Regions from separate parts of the Homo sapiens genome. Here regions 1, 3, 4 and 5 are each linked to region 2. Evidence: promoter capture Hi-C in 16 types of primary human blood cells and fetal thymus (Javierre and others, 2016). All regions are on one chromosome and are shown on one strand. The core of a region is centred on a gene start or on the middle of the fragment in contact, and the rest is flanking DNA. Distances in the headings are between cores, read along the strand shown. Region 1 has its middle 19 kb from the start of CTLA4. Region 2 holds the start of RAPH1 (Ras association (RalGDS/AF-6) and pleckstrin homology domains 1). Region 3 has its middle 62 kb from the start of CTLA4. Region 4 has its middle 40 kb from the start of CTLA4. Region 5 has its middle 21 kb from the start of ICOS.

Region 1 (2,700 bases), core at 3-2,502, 310 kb before region 2:
ATGGCTTGGTGAAGCCAATAGAACCCAGTTTATAATGAGAAGTCCCAGATGCACAGTGACTTGGAGTCCTGTGGTCAAGGGTTCTACCTCTATCATGGTCCAGTAACAAATCAAGAGCTTTTTCTCCAAGGACATATTATTCCCTGTTGAAAAGGGCCTGACTCCAGAATCCCAAAGGTCTTCATTATGATTCTCCTGCTGGAGCATACCATATACTCCACACTGCATCTTTTCTACCACTGATGCCTTTGACACAATAGGATCTGCCAGATTACATGACCCAAATAGCACAGGGTGCTGCACCACAGCCTGGACCTGCTGTGGTGCCCTTTCCTGCTCTGAACAGTACTCAAAGCTGGCAGCCTTCCATATCATCTGGAGCATGGGTGGAAGCAATATCCCTAGATGTGGGATGTGTTGCCTCCAGAACTCAAAGAGTCCTACCAGATGTTGTTTTATTTGTGATAGGGGATATAAGATGCAGCAATTTTTCTTTTGCTTTGGAGGGGATATCCCAGCATGCGCATGACTACTGAACCTCTAAAAGTCTTCACTGAAACTTCCCAACCACTAGAGCACATATGTTTTCCCAAGACACCACACACTAGTCACCTCTTGCTCAACTTGTCCAATCATCGTGATGTTGTCAATGTAATAGATCAGAGTGATGTTCTGTGGGGTGTTCAGGCAGTCCAGTTCCTTCAGACTCACCATCACAGAGGGTGGCAGAAACATAGACCTGAGACAAAATTGTAAATGAATATTGTTGTCCCTCCCACATGAATGCAAACTGTTTCTGATCGTCTTTTCTAATGGGAATGTAAAAGAACATATTCACCAAATCAGTGTCTGCATACCGTGAACCTGAGGCCTTATTAAAATGCTCTAGGAATGATACCACATCTGGGATAGCAACTGCTCTTTGGGCTGATGCTTGATTAAGTCTATGGCAGTCTAGAGGACCACCAGAATCTGTTCAGTTTCTACGGAACGAGATTGGTGAATTAAATAGAGATAAAGTAGGAACCACCACCCCTGCATCCTCTAGACCTTTAATGATGGCATTTATCTTCACCATCCTCTCACTCCAAAATATATGATATTTTGGATTTATTATCTTGAATGAAGTGAGAAAGATGTTGGACAATTTGAAAAGTTTCAATTTAGCCTACTTTAATAGCTCATATTCTACAGACCAGGAAACCTATGTGGAGGTTACTACAATTTCCAAATATATCAACTCCAATTGTACATTTAGGGACTGGGAAAACAACCACCTCTGGATGGGTTCTTAGGATTCTATCTATTACATGACCCCCACAGGCTGTCATTCTAACAAGGGGTGCCATGATGACACTTTAGGTCTCCAAGTACTGATGTCAGCTCAGACCCTGTGTCCATTAATCCCAAACATGAGTGGTTGTTCCCCTCTTCCTCATCCGTGTAAGGGATCATAAGTCCCTTGGGGAAGGACTGAGGGAATTATCTCAGTATATTCTTGCCATAGTGCTGAAGGGTCTTTCCTCCTAGTACCAGGCCACCTCTTCAGTCAATGGGTTACAAATCTGAAAATTGGCTCAAGTTCAGGAACTGCACAAAGGATTGTGGCTTTTTATTAGAGCAGTTGTTCTCAGTCTCCTGATCCTCTGCTTTTACCTGTATTTTTTTTTTCTTTTTACAGTCAGCCTCCTGGCTTCCCAGAGCTCCATCATCCTCATAGATGTCAACAAACTCAACTCTGTGACTACCTCTCTTGCCATAATCCCTTACCTGCAAAGGAGGAAACCACTGTGGTGCTCGTGCCCCTCTCACCAGCATATTCCTTATAACCCTAGTGAATGATTTTCCCTCTGGTCCCTGTCATGGAACATCAACCTCCTCTTGGTGGGTCTTCTGGTCTCACATAATATATCCATTCCAGCGTCTCTACCTCTTCAGTCCCTTTATTCGTCTACCATCTGCCACGGTAATTCAGGCACTTCCACTTCATGAGAGTTGGCTATTTTTTTATCCAGGCTTCTAAGAGCCACCCAGCAATAAGTTTGCCCTATCACCCAACAACTTTTCTAGGGTGTTAAATATCAGGTCTCAAGAAAGTGCCCTTAGGTCAATGAATTCTTGCTTATCTAGTCTTACATTTTAGCTTCTTTGATCAAGCACCCTCAAAATCAAATCCTAGGAGTATTCCCCTGGCTTCTGCCAATTAATGCTGGCAAACTATTGCAATTCCTTAGGCATAGAGTCTCTTTCTTAACTTACCAGGCCCAGCATGACCTCAATCCTAGTTATTGGCTTGGCAGGCAAGAGAGGAGGTGGGGGCAGATTCTGAAGTGGCACCTCTTACAGGGGTGAGATTTCTATAGCATCTTCCAGCACTGTAGAACTGCTAGCCTTTACTATGGAAGGTGAGCCACATCTGCAAGCCCAGAGGATCTGAGGGGGTTGAAGAATGAACATCCTCAGGGTGCCATCCAGATGTCCCCATCCCATGTTGCAGTATTCTGCAACAGGGTCCCACCAGGTCCCTGACCTTTGCATAATATACCTGCTTTGGTTGAGCATTCAAACATCTCTGAAGCTCTGTGACTCTAACAATTGAGTCTTCATTCTGCCCCTCAGCTACATCTATCCTACTGCTGGGGATCTGGGCCACTTTGAGGGTGATCACAGAGGTTTTCTGGCTCACAAACTTAGCAATAA
Region 2 (2,700 bases), core at 141-2,640:
AGATAGTATTATTCTATACAAGAATATTGACATACCTACTGAACTTAAAATACAAAAGGGCAGTTATGTTTCAAAAGTACAGATATCTCAAGTGTGAAAGGCAGCCAGTATCTGTATTGTATGGTTCTAAATACCAATTTGAAACAGATTGTGTACCAGTTTGGAACAGATTGTACAAAAAAGACTGAAACCACTTGAAAGTCCTCAAGAATATCAGGAAGTAAGAATGTAATTAACCAAACCAGGATTTGGCCCCAGGACAGAGAAATGAACACTCTCATTCTTAGAGAGGGAGCTAGGATTTCAGGAATGTACAGTCAATGCTTTGTGAAAATTTAAATAAATTCTTAGCAAGCAGATGGGAAGACATGAAAAAGCAATGTTCATTGCAACCAATTTCAGGTCACACTCCCAATTTCTCAATTGTTTTAATGCTGTCAACAAACTTGCTTTGCATGTAGCCAAGCAAACATAACTTAGTTCCATTTGTTCCTTTCTTTGATCAACTTTAGGTGAAGGTCAAAATAAGGACATACTTAAAATCTAAAAGTCTGCCGAAGTCAAGCCTGCATCTAAAGAGGCAGCAGCTGAGCTTAGCGATAAGGAAAAATGCCGACACCTTACTACTACACAATTCCGATGGGGTGGGGGGACAGAAATTAAGGAGGCAGGATTAACAGATTTCGAAGTTTAAAAAGTAAAGGTCATCGAAATGTCCCGTTCCTAAGTTTCCCAATACATTCCATGAAACTGCAGAGACTTTTTGGCCAAAATGGGATTTCCTAAAGAAGGGCCTCACAGATCTCAACGACAATGGTCCTGTAAGTGACCGAGCCAACCCCGGATGCGTTTCTGGAGTCTCTGAATACACGGACAGCGTATAAAGGTGGATGCGTACAGCTCCCTGACAGAACTGCTGGAGGCTGCTGTGCCTCCCAGGGCGCTAGGACAGAGGCTGCTGGGCCGGCTTCCTATGAAAGGCGAGCAGGGGGTGGGGCAGCACTGGGATTTTCCTCCCCACTCATTCATTCTCTGATTCACTCGTTCCTGTAGGCGGCTCACAGGGACTTGCGGAGGAAAGGCGAGGCACGAGCGGAGCCGCGGTTGAGTGCGGCCGGGCGCGGCCGGGCGCCTGAAGGGAGGGCGGAGGGCCGGCGCGGGGCGCGGGCTAGGGAAGGGCGGCGGGCGCGGCGGCCTGCGCCGGAAGTGAGTGGTTGGCGGCGGGCGGGGGCGGCGCGCGGTCCCGCGCGAGTCGGCCCTACAGTCGGCAGTCCGGCCCTCAACCCCGCCTTCTGCGTCTCGGCTGGACGCGAGCACACTCGGCTCCGCCGCCGCCGCCGCCGCCGCGGGGCGCTGCGGCCGCCCCGCCCCCGCTCCCGCCGCCGCCCGCCAGTCAGTCAGTCAGTCAGTCAGTCAGTCAGTCAGTCAGTCACTGAGCGCGCGGCGCGGGAGCTGCTGGCAGTCGCTGCGTCTCTGGCGAGGGAGCGCCGCGCCTGGGGAGGAGGCGGAGGCAGCGGCTGGAGGAGCGCGAGCGGCGGTTTCCTTGCCCGGGGCCGCGGGAAGGCCGACCGACTGCCGCGGTGAGTGGTTAGCCTCGCCCTCGGGGCCAGGGGGTAGGGAGCCGGCTGGGCGCGGGGCCGTGAGGCGCTCCTGCCGCTCCCGCCTCCATTTTCCCGGCGCCCGGCCCCGCCATCCGGGTGCGGTACGGTCGGCGGCAGCCTGGGGCGGGGTCGTTGCCAGGTTGGGGATCGGGCCGGGGCTGGCTGGACCGCTCCCGGCTGGTGGATGGAGGTCGGTGGGGCCTGGACTGCACCCTGCGCCCCTGGGGACCGCGACGGAGGGAGACAATGAGATAAGGGGCCGCCTGGGAGGGTGCGGTTAGGCTTCTCCGACCCAGCACCGGGGGCTGGTGGCCCGGGACCGCAGGGAGGAAAGGACTTTCCCCCGCCCAGCTGCAGAAACCAGCTACTGGATGTCGGGTTGCTTGGGTTTCGATGCCCCCATCTTTCATAGATGAGTTCAGTGCAGAGATTTTGAAAGGCGGGGCTCCTTCTGTGTCTTCTTTCTAATTAAACAGGATAAGTAATTGCTTCATTGCTTTTTAACCGCGTCTCCTCTTGCGGTCTGTATTATACATTCCCGCCGGAAATCCAAACTGCAATTCATGGGGGGGGGGGGGGGGTGGACGGAGGGAGGGGGCAGTGTGATAGTATTAGGATGCCTTCGTGTTAAGACAGGTTGAAAGATGTGGTTTTCTTAAGGCAGTGACTTAGGGTGTCCCCACTGTGTGAGCTGGAAACCGCATAAACCTTATTGCTTACAAGCTCGAAGACATGGTTTAATATGAAATAAGAGCCTTGAGGGAGGGTGTAAGTGTTACATGTGTCTTGCGTGTGTGCATTTCTTAAATTCTTTGGGAAGATCCGTTGGGGAAATCCGGGAGAATGGAAAAGTTCTTCACTCAATCTTCCAATAAGGGTTGATGTTGTCTGCAGCATTTCTCAGGGAAATGTGGAGAGCTGCTTATGTAGGTAAAGTCCACCGTTAAGGAACAGTAAAGGTAACGGGTTAGGGATGAGGCGTGATCGGATTATTAAAGAGTCAGTCCATGGGGATATTAAATTCAGCAAACATTTATGGAATACCTACTCTGTCAGTTAGGCTGGGTGACACCAGGTGAACAAGCATGGGGTGGTGGAA
Region 3 (2,700 bases), core at 197-2,696, 270 kb before region 2:
CTCTCTCTCCCCATCTCTCTCCCTTTCTCTCTCTCTGCCTCTCTTCCTCCTTCTAATACGTCATTTGCCTGTCCCCCCCTTCCTTTTTTTTTTTTGAGACAGAGTCTTGCTCTGTCATCCAGGCTGGAGTCCAATGGTGCCATCTCGGCTTACTGCAACCTCCACCTCCCAGGTTCAAGCGATTCTCATGCCTCAGTCTCCTGAGTAGCTGAGCTTACAGGTGTGTGCCACCACGCCTGGCTAATTTTTGTACTTGTAGTAGAGATAGGGTTTCACCATGTTGCCCAGGCTGGCCTCAAACTCCTGGGCTCAAGTGATCCACCTGCTTCGGCCTCCCAAAGTGATGGGATTACAGGCATGAGCCACTGTGCCTGGCCATTTGCCTTCTCTTTGTGTCACTTTCCTCACTGGCTTTATCATTCTTCTGATTACCTCATTAATGAGAAATGAAACTTTGACACCTACTCACTAAGGGGTTATATGAAAACTATGAGTATAAATTTATAATTGTTTTGACACTTATAGGTGATGTAAATTTTATTAAAGTGTCTTAAACCATTCAGAAAGCTTTAATTGGTCATTCAAGGTATACTTTATTTTGTTCTCTAAAAATATTACTCATCAACCACAGTCAGAAGCCATAATGTTCAAGACTTTCACTTCAGGCAAAGAGGAATACCAAAGACCTAATTGATCCTGTCTTGAAAAATGCTAAAAAGTAAATGGGCAAAATATCAGAAAGTATAGTTTTTAGACACTGAACATCAGACAGCACAGGACAGTGATCTCTAAGAGCGGGAAAGCAAATAAGGTGAGCTCTATGATTGTTCCAGCTCACAGCCTGGAAAATTTCCAAGATACCATGCAGAGAGGAGGTCTCATTTAGTTGAGAAGATGGAGCTGGGAGTCTGGAATCAGTAGTGAGAAAAATCAGCCTTATACCAAAGGCAGCTCTCATCCCACCTCACAAAGCTTAAAAGCAAACTTCAAATTGTTTTCAAGTAATGCACATGTATCTCAGAACAAACATTAAAAATATTTATGGGACTATAAAAAAAACCAATACCCAACAAGGTAAAATTTACAATATCTGGCATCCAATCCAAATTACTGGGTATGCAAAGAAACAGGAAAATATAACTCATAATGAAAAGAAAAATTGATCAGTAGAAACAGACCCAGAAATGATAAAGATGTTAGAATTAGTAGAGAAAAACATTAAGACATGTAGTTATGGTCAGGCTCAGTGGCTCACACCTATAATCCTAGCACTTTGGGAGACCAAGGTGGGCAGATAGCTTAAGCTCAGGCATTCCAGACCAGCCTGGGCAACATGGTGAAACCCCAGCTCTACAAGAAATACAAAAATTAGCCAGGTGTGGTGGCATGTTCCTATAGTCCCAGCTACTCAGGATGCTAAGGTGGGAGGATCTCTTGAGCCCAGGAGGTCAAGGGTGCAGTGAGCTGAGATCATGTCATTGTAGTTATTGTAACTATATTCCATATGTTCAAGAAGGTGGAGGAAAGATTAAGCACATTAAAAAGAGACATGAGATCTATTTAAATGACCCAAATAGAACTTCTGGAAATGAAAACTACAACACCTGAAAAAAATACACTGGGTAGGATAAACAGTGGATTCAACACCAAATAAAATAATATTAGTGAACTTGACGGCATAGCCATAGGAACCATGCATAATAAAACTCCTGGAGAAAACACACTGAAAAATGAAGAGAACATCAGACACCTTTAAGCAGTCCAATACACATATAATTGGAGTATTGCAGTCCAATTATATATTATTTTCCTGTTGGAAAATGTGAAGACAGAAAAAATTTTTAAATTAATTTTTTTAGATGTAAATTTGTCTAAAGATATAAACTCACAGATTTGAAGCTCAACCAACACCAAGCTTAGGAAACAAGAAGAAAATTTCATGAAGGCATAATGTTATCAAATTGCTTAAAATAAAGAGAAAATCTTCAAAGCAACCAGAGGAAAAAACCATAAAGTTGTGTTGTCTCCCCCAGATTGTGAAATGTTCAATTCCACACACCCTGGCCTTGGGAAACCACGGGAGGTAGAGCTTGGGACCTGTGGACCTAGAGAACATGGCTTTGCTTTCCAAGTAGAGTTCGGAATGCAAACAATATTTAATATGAACTATAAATATTTTTTCTCATTTATTAATGTTTCCCTTTAGCAGGGCAGGAACTAGCATGAGTTGATGTATCAGGTACAAATTTTAAGGAGCACTAAAAAATTAATCAAATAACATTTTCGTGTAATATTTTAAAGAATTAAAATGAATGCAAGAAAATCATTATCAAAATATCACATTTTTAATGAAGACAGGATCTGACCCTGTGCTTGCATGACTCACTTCCTTCTCCTTGGTCCAAGTCCTACTCTTTAGAAAGAGACCTGACATATCTTTAGGGCAATTTCTTCTTATCTCCCCCACGCACTGCCCATAGTAACTCCAGTCCTCCACCCACTCATCACTGATTTCATTTTGGTGCCAAGACAAGAAACCTTAAGGCCATCTCCTTCTTTCTTTTTTTTTCTTTTTTGAGATGGGGTATCACTATGTTGCCCAGTCTGGTTTCAAACTCCTGGGTTCAAGTGATCCTCCTGCCTCAGCTTCCCAATGTGCTGAGATTACAGGGATGAGTTGCCACACCTGGTCTTTCTTAT
Region 4 (2,700 bases), core at 134-2,633, 290 kb before region 2:
CTATACCACTTGTAGAGTGGACCACATTGCCTAAGGGATTCTGGGATTCATGCCCATGTGGGGGTCCCAGGCATCCTAGTCAGATCTCATTCCAAGAGGGTGTTCTGGCAAGTAGATTGCTCTTGCTGACCAGTGGGATTTTTCTTTCATGGATTCATGCAGTATTGGGCTGCCAGAATAGTGCCAACATGCTGATTTAGGGTGGACTTCACTCATATCAGACCCAGGATGAGTTCAGGCCTTAGAACAACCAGCAATCCTTGTGGTAGGCAGAATAATGACCCTTCAAAGATATTCATGCTCTAATCCCTGCAACCTCTGAATATGTTACGTTTCATGGCAAAGGGACTTTGCAGATGTAATTAAGATACAGACTTTTTTATTTATTTATTTATTTATTTTTGAGACTGAGTCTTGCTCTGTCGCCCAGGCTGGAGTGCAGTGGTGCGATCTTGGCTCACTGCAACATCCACCGCCTGAGTTCAAGCAATTCTGCCTCAACCTCCTGAGTAGCTGGGACTACAGGCACACACCATCATGCCCGGCTAATTTTTGTATTTTTAGTAGAGACTAGTTTTTACCATGTTGGCCAGGCTGGTCTCAAACTCCTGACTTCAAGCAATCCACCCGCCTCAGCCTCCCAAAGTGCTGGGATTACAGGCCTGAGCCACCGCACCTGGCGGGTACAACTTTAAATCAGGAGATTAGCCTGGATTATCCAGGTGGGGCCAATCTAATCACATGAGCTGTTAAAAGCAGAGAACACTCTTCAGCTGGAAACAGAAGAGAAATGAGGCAGAAGGGAAAGTCAGAGAGATTCAAGGTATGAGATCCATTGCCACTGGCTTTGAAAATGGAGAAAGGGGGATCCAAGGCAGACAGCCATCAAGGACATTGGAACTTCATTTCTCCAACTGCATGGAGCTGAATTCTGCCAACAACTGGAATGATCTTCAAAGCAGATTCATCCCCAGAATCTCAAGAAAGGAACACAGCCCAGCCCACACCTAGATTTTGCCTTATGAAACCTGGGGCAGAGAACCAGCCAAGTCATGTGTGCCTGGACTTGCAAGCTACAAGACTGTGAGATAATAAAATGGATGGCCAGCCTGGGCAACATGATGAGACTCTGTCTCTACAAAAAATAAAAAATAAAAATAAAAATAATTTAATTAGCTGGGCATGGTGGCAAACATCTATAGTCCTAGTCACTTGGGAGACTGAAGCAGGAGGATCACTTCAGCCCGGGAGGTTGAGGCTGCAGTGAGCTGAGATTGTACCACTGCACTCCAGCCTGGGTGACAGAACAAGACCCTGTCTCAAAAAATAGTAATAAAGTAAAAAATAAAATGGATGAGAGAAAAGAAACAGCCAAGCCATGTGTGTCTGGACTTCTGACCTACGTGACTGTGAGAAAATAAAATAGATTGTATTAGTCCATTTTCATGCTGCTAATAAAGACATAACTGAGACTGGTCAATTTACAAAAGAAAGCAGTTTAATGGACTCACAGTTCCACATGGCTGGGGAGGCCTCGCAATCATGGCGGAAGGTGAAAGGCATGTCTCACATGGTGGCAGACAAGAGAAAAGAACTTGTGCAGGGAAACTCTCCTTTATAAAACCATCAGATCTCATGAGACTTATTCACTATCACAAGAATAGCACGGGAAAGACCTGCCCCCATGATTCAATTACCTCCCACAACACCTGGGAATTGTGGGAGCTACAATTCAAGATGAGATTTGAGTAGGGACACAGCCAAACCATATCATGGATGTTGTTTTAAGCTGCTCACTGTATGGTAATTTGTTATGGCAGCAATAGAACACTAAGAGTCCACCATGACCTTAGGGCTTGAGCCACATGAGTAAGCCCATGCATGGGCTCTAACCTGACTGTGTTCTGACCTCAGTGCCACCTCTGGTTACAACACTCAGGGAGGCAGGAATGAAAGCAGGTACCCAACCTTGTCGAACCCCTCCCCCATTGCTAGTGTCCCCTCCACCAACAGGCGCTTCCAAATGATGTTCTCACTTGCTTTCAATTGATGTGGTGATGTCATGCTCTCCAGGGACAGTGTTAGGTTGTACCTGAAATGGGCCACACATCCCTTATGTGAATGAGACCTCTCTTCTATTCTTCCCATGAGACCCTCACCTCTCCTTGCCTCTTATGGCAGTGTATGGAAGGCAGGGATGCAATCATTATTGAAGGAGGTCACATTCTGGGAATACAGTGATTACTACCTAAAAAGTTCAAAAGAAGACATGGTTGGAAGATGAGCTATTCCACATTATGCTATAAAATTCTGAACATGACCAGAAAACAGATTATCATTCACACATTTCTACATACTCTGAGTAAGACTTGCATTTGTGGTCATCTTCAATGAAGCACAATAACAACTTTGGAGATGGTCCAATACTCACAGGCAGCCTGATGGATGATGCTGTATCATGAAGAATGCTGTATCAGCATTAAATAAATAAAATTAGGGAACCACAGAGGCTGGAAGATCTATATTGCTTTAATACAAACAGGTTCTGAAGAGCTTTAGGGTTGTGAGTAAGAACAGCATCGCTACCTTTTGCTCATGGTGGAAGATGCTAACTTAGCCAGGAACAGCATATTTGATGATAAAGATTACAAAGAAATGGTTCCCAGACCCAAACAGAAATCTTAATGTGCACCGATTAGA
Region 5 (2,700 bases), core at 57-2,556, 380 kb before region 2:
AGGTAAAGACTTACTCAAAGAGAAAGAAAAAGCTGAATTTCTCTGCCAGACCAAAAAAACCAAATCAATCCACTGTGTCAGCATCCTGAAGCTGCAACTTGTGTATATCAACCTAAGGCAAAGTCATGGCCACTTTCTTACCTACCAATCCATCAATAGCTGCCATCAGATGCATCTTTTGGGACAACAAAATAATTAGCACATTTATTTGCCAGCCATTTGGGGGAATTGATGTAGGGCTGAACCACTGACTCTTCTACCAACTAGTGGGACAAAGCTTCATTTATAAGCAAGGACTTGGCATTTTAGAACTCAATGTGTCATCTCTTCCTGCACAATGATACTGTATTAAGGTCTACTTACTGGGTAAAGAGGTATGGAAAGTCACTAATAAACTCAACTGATGGTAAAAGAACAAGAACTCAAATTACAAAATGAGGTAAGATAAGATCCCTGAATCATAGAAGTCAGTTCCTTACCTGACTACCAGGTATTCTTACTCCAACAAAGGTTATTGATAGATCCTTATTGGAGACAGCTGGATCTCTTTGAAGCCGTAGCCTGACCTAACCCAACCACCTTAATTTGCAGGATCTGCTCACTAAGGTTTAGTCTATTCAGTTTGTTGTTGGTCGCTGCCCTATATGAACAGGGGAAGTTTAAACAGCAGTGGAGAGCAAAGCAAAGAAAGAGCCTCAAACAATCATATACTTTTTTTCTCTCCATAGGAATAAATACTACCCAGATATCCCCTGTTTCCATTGCAATTACTAAAAGGTAGTGGAATCTTTTGTGAAATTTGTGCCTGGGAACCCACTGCCTTAGAATAAAAGCATCAAGTAGGCTTGGGAGTGAATCTAAAAAATAAACTTAAGAAAGAAAATCAGGCTGGGTGCGGTGGCTCACGCCCATAATTCCAAAACTTTGGGAGGCCGAGGCGGGCGGATCACCTGAGGTCAGGAGTTGGAGACCAACCTGGCCAACATGGTGAAACCCCGTCTCTACTAAAAATATAAAAATTAGCCAGGCGTGGTGGCCGGCGCCTGTATCCCAGCTACTCGGGAGGCTGAGGCAGGAGAATTGCTTGAACCTGAGAGGCGGAGGTTGCGGTGGCCAGGATCGTGCCACCGCACTCCAGCCTGCGCAGCAGAGCGAGACTCCGTCTCAAAAAAAAAAAAAAAAAAATCAAAACCAAATTGCTAAAGTTTTAGAGATCTCAGACTCAATGATTAAAAAGTCCTGGGTAATAAAAGTCATTTGTTTTATATTGTCCTATTTTAGTTTCAGTTTCCAAAGATGTTCATTTTTACTTGACTCACTGAGGAACTGTGTTGCTAACGATCATGGATACAAATGAGTTTTTCCTTCAAATATATAAAATGAGAAGTTTTCCTGCATCCTTACATGTGATTTTTATTAGACCCAGTGCCCAGGAATTCTTCCAGTGAAATCCAACTTGATTTCAAAATAGAAAAACTGGATTCCCTTCACAGACTCTTTGCTTGGCTACAAACTGTTGAAGCAACCGTGCTTCCTTCAGAGAGGCGGGTTGTCCAGTGCAGAGATGAAGAGCTGGCTGCAGAGACAGGCCTTTCGGGTTTGAATCAGGCTTCGCAGTCTCTCGAGCTGCAGGTTCGTGGGCAAGCAAGGGAACCACTCAAGGTTCAACTTTCTCATCTGTAAAATGAAGATCATGACAGTACCTATCTCCTGTTAGTTTGTTGTGGGATCGTGTTAAATAAGTTAACATAGTAAAGCATTTCGACTAATGTGCTAACATAAACCTAGTATGACATAAAACCTAACGTTTTATTTTCTCAATAAGTACTAGCTGCTGCTGCTTGTTGCTGTAACAAAAAAAAAAAATAACATCTAACTTCTCACCTCTTATCCATCAAAGTTGTCTCAGCTCTGTTGCCTACGCCATTCAAACAAACAATGGACTTGTAATGCCCATGTGAATCAAAGGGTGGCCTGTCTGGTAAACAGCTCCAGCTGTCTGTCAGGGTCCCTGAGCTGGCGCTGTGGTGGTAGTGAGGTTTTGTGGCACAAGTTTTCTGAGTGGGTTTTGCTCTGAAGATGCAGAGGTTGTTTACTTTTAAAAAAAAAATCTTTTTCTTGCTCTACTTGTAAGATTTAGTAAAAACATGAAGCTATTCGTTACTTTGTGTGCTCCAAAAGCTAAATATAGAAAGAAGACAACTAATATTATGAAATGTGAGAACGGAGAAGAGGTGTGATGCAGCTAAATGCAGAACTTGACATTATTTTTAGGTTTGAGGTCAAAAAGTTTGCTTATGTTACCTCCTAGTGAGAAAAACTCCGTTAAAGCTTTCCTTCCTGTCAAACTCCATCCATAACGATGGTGGGAGAGAAGGAAACCGAGTAATTACTTTCCCTCAAATCATTTTCAAATTGCTGTGTTGGATATATTTATTTAGAGTTTCAGTGGCAGTGTTTTTCCTAAATGCCCTCAGAATTTAATGCAATAATATCAGCCTTTCAAAGGCATAAATTACGCAAACCAGATTTTGGAAGTTTCATTTACTGCCTCATCAGTGCATAAAATAGCGAGAACCGTATGCACCTGGAAACTCCACCTGTCTGGTCCAAGGGAGTCAAGGGTAGAATGACATGGGAAAGTTTCCTTCAACAGAGAATAGTACCCTCCAATTGCCCAGAAATTGACACCAACATTGT

Evidence for each region. The method cuts DNA at HindIII sites, captures the fragments that hold promoters and counts their contacts. A CHiCAGO score of 5 or more calls a contact.
Region 1: a fragment that was not itself captured here is called in contact with the fragment with the promoter of RAPH1 in region 2 in 1 of 17 cell types (monocytes); the score reaches 5.2 in monocytes.
Region 3: a fragment that was not itself captured here is called in contact with the fragment with the promoter of RAPH1 in region 2 in 8 of 17 cell types (M2 macrophages, M0 macrophages, activated CD4 T cells and 5 more); the score reaches 8.1 in M2 macrophages.
Region 4: a fragment that was not itself captured here is called in contact with the fragment with the promoter of RAPH1 in region 2 in 1 of 17 cell types (non-activated CD4 T cells); the score reaches 5.4 in non-activated CD4 T cells.
Region 5: a contact is called between a fragment that was not itself captured here and the fragment with the promoter of RAPH1 in region 2, in 5 of 17 cell types (monocytes, M0 macrophages, M1 macrophages and 2 more). The highest score is 11.3, in monocytes.

Annotation. Positions count from the first base shown.
Region 1 is chr2:203,847,105-203,849,804 of GRCh38, reverse strand. No RefSeq gene overlaps it. Among named protein-coding and RNA genes, the nearest start is that of CTLA4, 19 kb to the left of the region's middle. The HindIII fragment of the contact is 4,100 bases long and covers 1-2,700 here.
Region 2 is chr2:203,533,991-203,536,690 of GRCh38, reverse strand. RAPH1 (Ras association (RalGDS/AF-6) and pleckstrin homology domains 1) reads left to right here and starts at 1,390. Exons shown (of 14, transcript NM_213589.3): 1 at 1,390-1,580. RefSeq lists silencers at 1,242-1,311, 1,362-1,451, 1,522-1,621. The HindIII fragment of the contact is 18,695 bases long and covers 1-2,700 here.
Region 3 is chr2:203,804,697-203,807,396 of GRCh38, reverse strand. No RefSeq gene overlaps it. Among named protein-coding and RNA genes, the nearest start is that of CTLA4, 62 kb to the left of the region's middle. The HindIII fragment of the contact is 943 bases long and covers 975-1,917 here.
Region 4 is chr2:203,826,676-203,829,375 of GRCh38, reverse strand. No RefSeq gene overlaps it. Among named protein-coding and RNA genes, the nearest start is that of CTLA4, 40 kb to the left of the region's middle. The HindIII fragment of the contact is 3,441 bases long and covers 1-2,700 here.
Region 5 is chr2:203,914,266-203,916,965 of GRCh38, reverse strand. No RefSeq gene overlaps it. Among named protein-coding and RNA genes, the nearest start is that of ICOS, 21 kb to the left of the region's middle. The HindIII fragment of the contact is 2,054 bases long and covers 280-2,333 here.